Regions from separate parts of the Homo sapiens genome. Here regions 2 and 3 are each linked to region 1. The links are contacts of gene promoters, found by promoter capture Hi-C in human tissues and cell types (Jung and others, 2019). All regions are on one chromosome and are shown on one strand. Each heading gives the region's core, a stretch centred on a gene start or on the middle of the fragment in contact. The rest is flanking DNA. Distances are from core to core; before and after follow the strand shown.

The links. Contacts are between HindIII fragments. The study calls those that stand out against the background at their distance.
Region 2: a fragment that was not itself captured here is called in contact with the fragment with the promoter of AGPAT3 in region 1 in 7 of the 25 tissues and cell types used here (bladder, dorsolateral prefrontal cortex, hippocampus and 4 more).
Region 3: a fragment that was not itself captured here is called in contact with the fragment with the promoter of AGPAT3 in region 1 in 5 of the 25 tissues and cell types used here (dorsolateral prefrontal cortex, hippocampus, lymphoblastoid cells and 2 more).

What each region holds. Positions count from the first base shown.
Region 1 is chr21:43,862,651-43,867,034 of GRCh38, reverse strand. AGPAT3 (1-acylglycerol-3-phosphate O-acyltransferase 3) reads right to left here and starts at 1,812. Exons shown (of 10, transcript NM_020132.5): 1 at 1,690-1,812. RefSeq lists silencers at 1,054-1,373, 1,494-1,843, 2,394-2,753. The HindIII fragment of the contact is 11,781 bases long and covers 1-4,384 here.
Region 2 is chr21:44,098,050-44,102,433 of GRCh38, reverse strand. TRAPPC10 (trafficking protein particle complex subunit 10) reads right to left here. Exons shown (of 23, transcript NM_003274.5): 21 at 3,900-4,077. Among named protein-coding and RNA genes, the nearest start is that of PWP2, 7.2 kb to the left of the region's middle. The HindIII fragment of the contact is 4,324 bases long and covers 391-4,384 here.
Region 3 is chr21:44,005,825-44,010,208 of GRCh38, reverse strand. No RefSeq gene overlaps it. Among named protein-coding and RNA genes, the nearest start is that of TRAPPC10, 4.3 kb to the left of the region's middle. The HindIII fragment of the contact is 5,883 bases long and covers 1-4,384 here.

The DNA of each region.
Region 1 (4,384 bases), core at 563-3,062:
CGCGTCCAGGCGCAGGGTGTAGCTCCCCAGCGTGGAGTCTGCACTGGGGCCCCAGCCTGGGGCGGGGCAGCACCCTCCCTCCAGGAAGGCCTGTTCTAGAATCCACACTCCTGGGGACTTTCCCACCCGGCCACACTGCCTTTAACCCAGCAGTCTTCAGGCTGCTGCAGCGCGTCCCCCTGGCAGATACGCCAGGACAGGGCCACGCACAGGTAGGGTGACCACAGAGGGCGGCCACTCCATGAAGTCACCTTCAGAATATTTAAGGCCCCTACACCTTCTAAGGCCAAGGGGCCCTGTTCTGTCTGAATGTCAATGGCATGCAGCTGCTTTTTAGACAATGTCCTCAAGAAGATACTTAAGACTAACCAGAAATGGATACAAGAAGCGAGTTGTAACAGGCACAGGCTAACGCCGAACTCTGTGGGGGAGGAGGATTGGTTGGAAAGAGGGAGGGGGGGCGGCAAAGAAGTGGCCAAATCAAGAGAGTGCTCAGCATCCTCGGGAGACCCCTCTGAAGCTTTCAAACTGAGAAGACGAAGTTCAGCAATTCCTAAGCGAGTCGAGTCGGAGCAGCCGCGCCTGCAATTTAAAAGCTGCAGGATCCTGGGTCCCTCTAGCAGCCTGGGCCCGCCGCCCGCCCCACCTCCCAGCCCCCAGCAGGCTCTCGGCGTTGGCTTTCATTTTTAATAAGAGCCGCATGCTCATCACCCTCTGTCTGGAGGCCAACAGCCCACATCTTTCTTCTACTAAGATCATGTTTCCCAGGAAAAAGAACCCAACTGCTCAAGTATTCTCCTAGACAAAGCTTTTAAAATTGTGCTTTTTTTTTTTTAAAGGTCTGGGAAGCCATTTATAAAAGCATTTTCCCCATGTCACTAAACTTCTCTCAAAGTTAAAAAAAAAAAAAAAAACACTGCACCATTTTTAACTGCCTTCAAATACTAATAACCCTCCTTTCCTAAGTACTTGGGACCAATGTTCCAAGGGTCCTGGGGTGGCCAGGAGTGGGTTTTCGCCCCCACGGCTCTTGCCCCCGGACTGACCCCATCCCCTGACCCGCCCGGTGCAAACGCGCCGCCGGTCTCCGGGCCGAACCCACAGCCAACCCCGGGCCCCGCAGCCCTCCCCGCGCGGAGCGGCAAAAGTGAAACTGCTCCCTTGGCCTGGGCGCGCGAGGAGGAGGCCCCTGGGGGGGGTCCCGGGTCCGCCGCGCCCCGAAACCAGGCGGCGGGCGCGTCCTGTCCACGGGGGAGCCGAGCGGGGCCCGGAGCAGAGTCCAGGACGGAGGGATGGGACGTCCCCGCGGGAACCCACTCGCCCTCCCTCGGCCCGGCCCGGGCCCCTCCCGGGCGCCCCGAACCCCCGGGCCTCCCCGCTGGGCCCAGCGCCACCGAGGCTGCTGCGGGAAGCGGCCGGGGCCTCGCGCTGGACCAGGCCGCCGGGGAGGCCGGGGTTGCGGGGGGCGCACAGGACCCGGGCCCAGACCTCCTCCCGGCCCCGCGCCTTCCCAGGCCCCGCGCCCCGCGGAGCGCGGCCGGCCCATTGCGGCGCGGGGCCCCGGGCGGCCCGAGGTCGGACGGCTGGGGCAGGGGCGACCTCCGGCGGCGGGAGGGCGACCTCGGGCGGCGGCGGGGCGTGGGGGAAGAGGGGGGCGGCCCGACCTCGGGTGGGGGCCTCGGTGCTCACCTGCAGCCGCCGCCACCTGCTCGTCGCGCGGGCGTCCCCGGCGTCGCCTCCGCGGCCCCGCTCTGGCCGCCGCGCTCCTCGGCCCTGGGCCCGGCCCGGCCCTGCGTCGGGGCCTCAGCGAGTGCGGCGCCCGCCGCCCCCGGCCCCCATCCCGCCGCCCTCCGCCCTCCGCCCTCGGCCGCGCCGCCGCCGCCACTTCCTGTGCGCGGCGATCCCACAGTTCCGCCGGCGCGCGCGGGGCGGCCGAGGGACACGCTGGGGGGACACGGGGGAAGGACGCGGGGGGGGACGCGGGGGGACGGCGCGGGGGGGGACGCGGAGGGGACACGGGGGCGACACGGCGGGACACGCGCGCGGAGAGAGGTGTGGGCCGAGGGCGCCGGCGGGGCCGGGCGCGGAGCCTGCGTGGGATCCGCTAACGGACGGGGCTGGGGCCCGGGCTGGGGGAGGGGGCGGGCCGGGACCGCGGGGGGCGCGGGGATCAGGGGGGTCGGGGCTGAACGGGGGGAGGCGGCGAAGGACCAGGCTGGGGTCCCGCGAGGGCTCCCCCGGACCGGGTCGGGGGCAGAGGGGGCCGGGGCGCGGGGTGGGGCCGGGAGGGGCCTCCGAGCTCTGCCTGGGCCCCGCCATCTCCCCTGCCGGGGTCTCCTGCGGGCGCCGGGGAAGTTTCGCGCGCGAGCTCCTGCCCTGGTCGGCCGGGGCTTAGGGTCGCCGTCAGGGGTCGCCGCGCGGCGGGCTCGGTGGGGACGGCCCTGCGCGCAGCGGCTCCGCGGAAGGATCGCGTTTCGGCCCACGTGCCGCGCCCTTGGACTTATTCATAGTTGGCACCCGGCTGGCAACACTGTATCGACACTTGACCGTGGCGGGGGTGGGGGTCGCCCCGGGGCTGCCCTGCGAACCCCCGCGGGCGCTGACGCCGTCCCCTCCAGACCGCGGAGCCCTCTCAGCCCCAGGACAGCGGCTGCCGTCCCCCCTCCCTTGCACCTGGCCAGCGGCCGATCCCAGAACCTGCGGAGGCCGCGCAGGTGCCGCTGTCAGGGCAGGGCCCGCTGCGGGCTCCGCCTCCTGCGCCCGGTACCTTGTGTGACCTGGCGCCTGCTCAGGTCCTCAGGCCCCGGCTGGACTTGCTGAGCTTGGGTGGGCTTCATTTGAAAACCATTTAAAATACCAAGTACTGGTACTGTCTACTGTGCCCCTTTTTTTCCTTTTTTTTTTTTTTATTTTTATTATTATTGAGACAGGGTCTTGCTCTGTCGCCCACCCTGGAGTGCAGTGGTACAATCATAGCTCGCTGAAGCCTTGAACTCCAGGGCTCAAGTGATCCTCCCACCTCAGCCTCCCAAGTAGCTGGGACCACAGGCACACACCACCATGTCTGGCTAATTTAAAAAAAATTTTTTTTGTAGAAATGGGGCCTCACGGTGTTGCCCAGGCTGATCTCGAACTCCTGAGCTCAAGTATTCTCCCACCTCCTCCTCTCAAAGTGCTGGGATTACAAGTATGAGCCCCCGCACCCAGCTTGCACCTCCCTTTAAGCCTCCTCAAATTATTTCAGAAAATACTTAGACTAAAATAAAATGAAAGTACCGTGCACCTGTCCTACTCACAGTTCCCTTATTCTTGAAAAAGGAGTTAAGATTTGCAAAGCTCGTGGAATTCACCATTTGTAAAACCTCTCACCCCTCATGTCATTTTGGGTAATCTGTGCCACAGATAAATTCTCACAGGCACCACGGGATGTGTGGATACAGGGATGTGCTGACTTACAGCTATACCTATAATCACAGGAAGCCTGAGAACAACCAGACACTTGGTTAAATAAACTCTAGAACATTCATTTAGCATTTTTAATTTAAAACATTTTCTAAAGTTGTGATGTGATAATTCTGTGTACACAGATAGGATATAGTCTCCAAGATCTGTTAAATTAAAAAATAAAAATAGTGCAGAGCAGTGAATATACAATGATGTGCTTTATTTAAAACAAACAAACAAACAAAAAATGGCCAGGCACGGTGGCTCACACCTGTCTGTAATCCCAGCACTTTGGGAGGCTGAGGCTGGTGGATCACGAGGTCAGGAGTTCAAGACTAGACTGGCCAAGATGGTGAAACCCCGTATCTACTAAAAATACAAAAAAAAAATTAGCCTGGCGTGGTGCAGGCGCCTGTAATCCCAGCTACTCGGGAGGCTAAGGCAGAGAACTGCTTGAACCTGGGAGGCAGAGGTTGCAGTGAGTCAAGATTGTGCCACTGCACTCCAGCCTAGGTGACACAGTGAGACTCTATCTCAAAAAAAAAAAAAAAAAAAAAGACCAGATGCAGTGGCTCACACCTGTAATCCCAGCACTTTGGGAGGCCAAGGCGGGTGGATCACTTGAGGTCGGGGGTTCCAGACCAGCCATGGTGAAACTCCACCTCTGCTAAAACAAGATACAAAAATTAGCTGGGCGTGCTGGTGCTCTCTTGTAATCCTAGTTACTCAGAAGGCTGAGACAGAAGAATTGCTTGAACCCGGGAGGCAGAGGTTGCAGTGAGCTGAGATCTAGCCATTGCACTCTGGCCTGGGCGACAGAGCGAGACTCTGTCTCAAAACAAACAAACAAATAAAAAAAAAAAAAAAACAGAAAACAACATAGGCAGATACAAGTCCAGAAGGCTCTGTGAAGATATGATAGTGAATGGGCAAGGGTAAA
Region 2 (4,384 bases), core at 1,303-3,802, 230 kb before region 1:
TCTGTCTGGTAAGTGGCAGTATCCAAGACCACTGGGTCTGAAGCCAACTCTGCCACTCAGAAGAGCACCCCAAGGCCTCCAGGCTCAATGACCGCTGTATAGTGCTGAGACCACCACCAGCCTCACAGAGCTGCTTTTTAAGGATGGAAAGAGAATACGTATGAGGGAACTACAAAAAGTTCATGCAAAAATGGAATCCAAAGATGAAAACAGAAAATATAAGCTTTATTTCTCAACATAAGCCCCACCAAGGTCAAGACATGTTTGTAAGCAATGATGCCATTGCTTACGATGCCATTTAGTCCATCCCTGAAGAACTGGGAGGCCTGAGAATTTAGCCATGTCAACGCAGTCTTTCTCTACATTATTAGCTGAATAAAAATGGGTGCCTTTTAAAGACTTCTTAAGATCAGGAAACCAAAATCAGTCAGAAGGAGCCGAATCAGGTCCACAAGGTGGATGCCTCATGATTTCCCATAGAAACCCTCACGAAGTTGGGCTTGTTAGAGGAATGAGCAGGAGCTTTGTCGTGGTGGAGGAGGACTCTCTGGTGAAGCTTCCCCAGGGGTTTTTCTACCAAAGCTCTTGCTATCTTCCTCAAAACAATCTCATAATACACAGACGCTGCTGTCCTTTGACTCTCCAGAAAGTCAACAAGCAAAATGCCTTGAGTATCCCAAAAACCTGTTGCTGTGGCCTCTGCTCTTGACCAGTCTGCTTCTGCTTTGGTGGGGCCACCCCACCTCTTGGTAGCCATTGCCGTGTCTGCTTTGTCTTCAGGATGGTACTGGGAAGGCCACACTGCATCTCCTGTTATGGTTCTTTGAGTAAATGCTTCAGGATCTTGATCCCGTGTGTTTGAAGTTTCCATGGGAAGCTCTGCTCTGGTCGGCCACGGACCTGGGTACTAGGGTTTTGGCACCCACTGAGTGGAACGCTTGCTCACCCTTCAGGCGTAATTGCATAAGCTGAACCAGTTCAGATGTCTGCGGTGTTGGCTGTCATTTCTGCTGTTGTCAGTTCCCTCCAATTAGGGCATGAACAAGGTGAATTTTTTCCTTGAAAATGGATGTGGATGGTCTGCTTGCTATGGCCTTAATCTTCAGCATCATCTCGTCCCTTCTTAAAACAAGATATCCATTTGCAAACTACTAATTCTTTGGGGCACTGTCCAAAGAATTTCATAAACTTTTCATAAAGCATCAATGATTTCACCATTCTTCCACCCAAGCTTCACCATAAATTTGATGTTGGTTGTTTTGTTGTTGTTGTTGTTGTTGAGGCGGAGTTTTGCTCGTTGCCCAGGCTGGAGTGCAGTGGCGCAATTTTGGCTCACTGCAACCTCCGCCTCCTGGGTTCAGGCAATTCTCCTGCCTCAGCCTCCCAAGTAGCTGGGCTTATAGGCGCCTGCCACCACGCCCAGCTAATTTTTGTATTCTTAGTAGAGATGGGGTTTCGCCATATTAGCCAGGCTGATCTTGAACTCCTGACCTCAGGTGATCCGCCTGCCTCAGCCCCCCAAAGTGCTGGGATTACAGGCGTGAGCCACTGCACCCGGCCAATGTTGGTTCTTGATTTAATTTTAGCAGAATTCATGTTGCTCTGATAGGGGCTCTTTTAAAACTGATGTCTTATCCTTCTTAGTGCCTCAAACTAGATCCTGCTCAGTGAGTAGGAGCTTATTTTGGTGCAAAAAGTGTTGAAATCCATGCATAGTTTTTTCATAACGTATCTTCCATGATTTTTTTGAAGACCCCTTGTATGTAAAGCACTTAGTACCACTCCTGGGACATGGTAGTGTCTTAATATATGGCAGGTGTTATTATTAACATTAATTATTAAAACACAACCATCATGTAATTCAATGCAATTCAAACACTTAAGTGATCATTCACTGGGACTAGCCCTGGAGATATGAAAGTAAGCAAGACAGGATCCTTGCCATCCAGTAGCAGTAGACCTGGTAAAGAGGTCACAGCTTCCCATCATGAGGATACCGAGCAACCGCCCAGGGGGAGTGAGTGACCAGAAGGCCACGAGCAGCAGAGAAGGGCTCAGGGAGGTGGACATCCTGTAGTTGGGGATGGGGGACCTTTGAGGACAGGAGCTACTACAGGACATGCAGAGGCCCTAGGAGTGTCAGGAGGAAGGCAAAGGAGTGACAGTTCTCAGAGTGTGGCTCTCAGGGCACCCGCAAGCTCATAGCTTTCACACTGCTGCCTTTCTACGCTGCTGACCTCGCGCTGCTGGGGCAACCACAATGGCATGAACTCGGGCCAGACTGCGCAGTCATGTCACTCATGTTCTTTACTACCATGAACTCACAGCAAAAAAACAAAAAAAAAAATGCCACGCTTCACAAAGCAGTCAAAAGTGCTCATTTTATTAAATTCAGCTCCTGAGTAGACTTTTTTTTAATTGTGAAATGTTTATAGACTCACAAGAAGTTGTAAAAGTAGTAGAGGGGTCACATACCTTCATCACCAGCTTCACCCAACTGTGCCATCTCGTGTAACACAGGAAGCTGACACTGGTACCATACAGTGACCCAGGCTGCAGACCCCACTGGATTTCACTACAGAGTGAACCAGGCTGCAGACCCCACTGGATTTCAATACAGATAGAACCAGGCTGCAGACCCCACTGGATTTCACTACAGAGTGGACCAGGCTGCAGACCCCACTGGATTTCAATACAGCTAGAACCAGGCTGCAGACCCCACTGGATTTCACTACAGAGTGGACCAGGCTGCAGACCCCACTGGATTTCAATACAGATAGAACCAGGCTGCAGACCACACTGGATTTCACTACAGAGTGGACCAGGCTGCAGACCCCACTGGATTTCAATACAGATAGAACCAGGCTGCAGACCCCACTGGATTTCACTACAGAGTGAACCAGGCTGCAGACCCCACTGGATTTCAGCAGCTTTCGCAGGCATTCTTTGGGTCTAATTCTATGGCATTTGTCACATGTGTAGATTCGTGTAACAACCACAGCGGCCCTGGCCCAGAACTCTCCATTACCACAGAGGACGGCCTCCTGCTGCCTCCCACTGCTCCGTGGAACACTGACCCGCTCTCCTTCTGAGGCTGGCATTTTGAGGATGTCATTTAGAAATGGAATCACACAGTACACCTCCTTATAGGACTGGCGTTTTTCTCTTAGTATAATGCCCTTGAGATCCAACCACAGCACTGCGTGTGTCAACAGTCCCTTCTGTTTCACTGCTGAGGAGGAATCAGATGTGCCAGTTTAACCGCTCTCGAGCTGAAGGACGTTTGAGTTATTTCCATTCTTGAGTGCTTGTGTTCTTGACATTCTCTGGGTCTCTGCTGCAGAATGACAGCTGGCTCAGGGAAAGCACACGGGGAGCGCTCGGTGCTGCGAGCTGAAATAGCCGCTGTTTTCACAGAACGCCCTTTTCACTTGCAAGAGCGCTGGGGAAGCTAGTTATTCAGTGTTGGGTATTTGGTAGACGTCTGATTAAAAATGAATGATGTAAGCCTGTCACTTCAAAGAAAACAACACGACTATTTGCTGCCAATGATGCCATCTGAGACTTTAAGCAAAAATCAGAATTTTGGAAAACTTACACTTGCCACTGTGAGCTTGAAAGAGTTCTGATGCTCCAAGCCCTCCCTGAGAGATCACAAATGCAGATTTTAAAAAAATATTGTCAAACGAAAGGTGCCCACATTTGGAAGATCTGCACAACTCAGGAAACCATGTTTCCCACATGACTAATGGCACAGGGTGTAACGCTATGATGCCTGGGTAAAAGAGCCATTCAAAATGCAAGATAGGCTGAGTGCAGTGCCTCACACCTGTAATCCCAACACTCTGGGAGGCCAAGGCGGGAGGACTGCTTGAGCCCATGGGTTCGAGACCACCTACCTTCATACATAAGCTTTGTCGAAAAATGCTCATCAGATTCAGTCAGTGCTTCATCTTTATCCACCTCCAAGAGGTCTGAGAGCCTCGTGATCAAAACCTCCAGGGAGCAGAGGGAGCCTGTTCTGCAATACTCCATTCCCGAAGGGGGAAAGATCTCAGCCTTCACGTTGTATAATGTCTGGGCAGGAAAGGGAGAGAATAGAAAGGAAATGTACCTAAGTGGCCTCAAGAAATGCAACTAGAGGAAAAAGCAGAGCTGCCCACAGACCCTGGAGAGCTGAGGATAGACACCTATCTGCTCGGCTGGCCTTAGAGCAACTGTCGCCACTCACTCTCAATAATTCCCACTGGAGATGCAATGTTTTCGGAAGTCCTACACTCCGAACCTTAACATCCTTCTTTAAATTATGAACATTTTCAACCACAGGAAGAAAGGATAGCACAGAGCCCTTCCAGCCGCCTATCACCCAGATCCTGAGATCTCA
Region 3 (4,384 bases), core at 900-3,399, 140 kb before region 1:
CCGAAGTCGATGTAGGGTTCCCTGAAAGTCCTTGGCCTAGGCTGGACTACACGTGTGGGACGACTCTATGGGTTTACCAGGAAGCGGCTGTTACAGAGTTGAGGATGGCACAAAGACTAGAGGTCCAGTAGTGCTACAGGAAAGGACTTTCCGTTTTGTTTTCTTTTCAGACAGTCTTGTTCTGTCACCTAGGCTGGGGTGCAGTGGTTTGATCGTTATCTCAGTGCAGCCTAGAACTTCTGGGCTCAAGTGATCCTCCCACCTCAGCCTCCCAAGTAGTTGGGACCACAGGTGAGTGCCACCACGCCCGGCTAATTTTTTCTTTTTTTGTAGAGAGAGGGTCCCACTCTGTTGCCCAGGCTGGTCTTGAACTCCTGGCCTCAAGCAGTCCTCCTGCCTAATCCTCCCAAAGTGCTGGGATGACGAGTACGAGCCACCGTGCCCAGTCAAGACCTTTTTAATGCCATTAACACTGAGGACATTGAGCTGAGACACTAGATTGAGAATCACATTCCCAGGGGTCAGCAAACGACCTATAAAGGGCCCAGATAAGTATTTTAGGTTGTGTGGGCCACATGCAGTTTTTGTTTCATATTTTTGCTTGTTTTTTTTTTTTTTTTAAACAACTCTTTAAAAATATAAAAGCCATTCCTGGCTTTAAGTGCTGTACAAAAACAGGCCATCAACACATGTGGCTTGTGAGCCAGAGGTTGCCAGTCCCTCCCCTAGAATAAGGACTACTCCAGGCCCGCCTTAACAACGTCTAAAGCAAAACCCTGACCCGATCCACAAGACGGTCAGAGTTTGGAGGTTAAGTCCTGCCAAGTAAGAGGGGCCTGGGAGACACCTGGGACATTGCTCAGTAAACAGAGCCTAAAGCTAAGCCTACACAGCCCAGCATGGTACGTCCAGTAATGGAACTACAAACTAGAACGAAAGTCAGGATTTTTCAGTGGAAGAGCACCCTGAGTCTCCCTCATTTGTTATTTATCAGTGTTGAATATACACTAAAAAAACAAAAATCACTAAACATACAAAGAAAGAGGAAAACGTAAGCCATAGTTAAGAAAAAAAAAAAGCAGTTAACAGAAACCAATCCCCCTACAATGAACCAGATTCTGTATTTACAAAGATTCTAAAGCAGCTCTACATATGTCCAAAGGAGGCTGGGCACGGTGGCTCACACCTGTAATCCCAGAAATTTGGGAGGCCGAGGTGGGCAGATCACTTGAGCCCAGGAGTTTGAGATCAGCCTGGCCAACATGGTGAAACCCCATCTCTACTAAAAACACAAAAATTAGCTGGGTGTGGTGGCGCACGCCTGTAGCCCCAGCTACTCGGAAAGCTGAAGCAGGAGAATCGCTTGAATCCGGGAGGTGGAGGTTACAGTGAGCCAAGATAGTGCCACTGCACTCCAGCCTGGGTGACAGAGCAAGACTCCATCTCAAAATAAATAAAAATAATATGTCCAAAGGATTAAATGAAAATATTGTCTTAATGAGTAAAGAATCAGAAATTCACAGCAGAATAACAAAGTATCTAAAAGAATCAAAAGAAAAGTCTAGAACTGAAAAGTACAATAACAGAAATGAAAATTTCACTGAATTGGATTAACAGATTGGAGAAAACAGGAGTTTGGGATCTTGAAGGCAGATGGATAGAAATTATTTAATCTGAAGAAGAGAAAAAAGTTGAAGAAAAGTGGAGAGAACCTCAGAGACCTATGGGACAGTATGAAATGGCCAAAAGCATGTGTGATCGGAGCTCCAGAAGGAGAGTATGAGTCTAGGAAGGAAACATTTTTGCAAAATGATGGCTCCAAATCCAAACACGTGGTGAAAAATACTGATTTACAGATCAAGAAATTCAGCAAAACCTGAAGAGAACACATACAAAGAAAATTACATGCAGGCATATCATACTCAAACTGGTGAAATAGATCAAGAGAAAAAAAATGTTTTGGTGGGGGGACAGGGTCTTGCTCTGTCGCCCAGGCTGGCGTGCAGGGGCACAGTCACGGCTCACTGTAGCCTCAGTCTTCTGGCTTCAAGCCATCCTCCCACTACAGCCTCCCAAGTAGCTGGGACCACAGGCACGTACCACCATGCCAGCTAATTTTTTAATTTTTTGTAGAGACGGCAGGGGGTCTTCCCCAGGCTGGCCTTGAACTCCTGACCTTAGGTGATCTGCCCACCTTGGCCTCCCAAAGTGCTGGGTTACAGGCATAAGCCACTGCACCCGGCCCTTCTCATAATTTCTTTAAGAGACCACTGACTGTTTAAAACAAACAATAGCTTGTGATACTTCTACAGTGTGTGTAGAAGTAAAAGGTAAGGACAGTGTGAAGGATGGATGGTGAGAGGTAACCCACTGATAAGCTCCTCACACTGTGAAGTGTGGAACTCCAGGTGTGAGGTGCAAGATGCAAAGGGTTATGTATGAAGAGGGAAGACTGAAGTGATACAATATTGACCCTACATTAAATTTGATATGTGAGGCATACGTAGTCTGTGCCCAGGAGAAAAAGCACTAGGGAAAAAATGAACAAAAGGGGTTTGGCTAAGAAGCCAATAAAGAAAAGAGAAATAATAGAAAATATCTGACTAATCCAAAAGAAGTCAGGGAAAGAACAACAGGAGAAAGACAGAAAGGACCAGTTATGTCAGGAAAAGACACTCAGCGCTCATTAGACATCAGGGAAATGCAAGTTAAAATGAAAATGAGATGCCACTTCACATGTACTCAAATCGATAAAATTTAAATTTATAATTAAAAACCCTGACGAGGCCAGGCACGGTGGCTCATGCCTGTAATCCCAGTGCTTTGGGAGGCTGAGGTGGGCCTCAGGAGTCAGGAGTCCGAGACCAGCCTGGCCAACATGGTAAAACCCCGTCTCTACTAAAAATACAAAAAATTAGCCAGGCGTGGTGGCGTGCACCTGTAATCCCAGCTACTTGGGAGGCTGAAGCAGGAGAATCGCTTGAACCCGGGAGGCGGAGGTTGCAGTGAGCCGAGATTGCACCACTGCGCTCCAGCCTGGGGAACAGAGCTAGACTCTGTCTCAAAAAACAAAAAATAAGTAAATAAAAAATAAAAACCCGACAATACCAAGTGTAGACTCCAAGCCGAGGAATATCTATGTCTTTGTACTGTTCTCACAGAGAACTGAGTCCAGCTGCTCTGAGAAGACAGACACTAGCCATTCCCCTTCCCGAAGACGTGGACACAGCGTTGTGCGGCTGGATGGGCTCCCACGTTAGGGAGTGTTCTTTCTGGAGGAAGGGAGGCAAAGGCAGAATCCCCTCCTCCAATCCCACCGGCTCTGGTCCAGGCAGCCTTTGGTGCGTGGGCAGTAAGTGGACTGCAAGCCTATTTTCCCTCTGAGCAGACCTATAAGAGATTTTTTTTTTCCACTTGGGAATTTAGAAAATGCTTGAATTCAGCACAAACACTGGTTTGGCACTTTCTTTTAATGAATCATGGTGAAATGATGCTAGTCCTGTCAATCGATGTTCATTCTTTTTTTTTTTTTTTTAGTACCTTTTTTCATGAGGCAGCATTTGGGGTGTTTTTTATTTTGTTTTATTGTTTTTGAAAAGTTGCTGGAACTTGAACTCAAATGGTTTTTCCTGGTAACCCATTACATCGTCTCCAGGCTGCAAAGAGCCTGTTAAATTATGTATTGGGACATTGTGTCTGCCTTATCTAACCAGAGGGACTGCTCGGGCCCTCTGCACAGAGGGCAAAAGGAAGGGCCAGTCAGTGAATGTTCACAGCAAGCTGCCCAGAACCGGACACAATCCAGACATCCCTCAGCCTCTGAATCATCAAACAGTGTGGCCCATCCACACCCAGAATACTACTCAGCAGCAGAAAGGAACAAACCATCCCCACAAAGGCCTGGAGGAACTTCCAGAGAATAATGCTGAGTAAAAACCTTCCAGGTCAGGTGCGGGGGCTGTGCCTGGAATCCCAGCACTGTGGGAGGCTCAGGCAGGAGGATCGTTTGAACTCGGGAGTTCAAGAACAGCCTGAGCAACATAGGGAGACCCTCGTCCCTACAAAAAATACAAAACCTAGCTGGGCCTGGTGGCATGTGCCTGTAGTCCCAACTACTTGGGAGGCTGAGGTGGGAGGATTGTTTGAGCCAGGTCGGCCGAGGTTGCAGTGAGCTGTGATTGGGCCACTGCACTCCAGCCTGGGCAACAGAGAGAGACCTTGTCTCAGAAACAAAACACAAAGCCCCTTCAGCCCCAAAAGGTGACACGCCGTGCAGTTGCTTTTATCCAACATCTTGAAATAACAAAATTATAGAAATGGAGAACAGACAAGTGTTTGCCAGGGGCCACAGGGGTGTGGGGTAAGGAGGGAGGAGGGTGTGGCT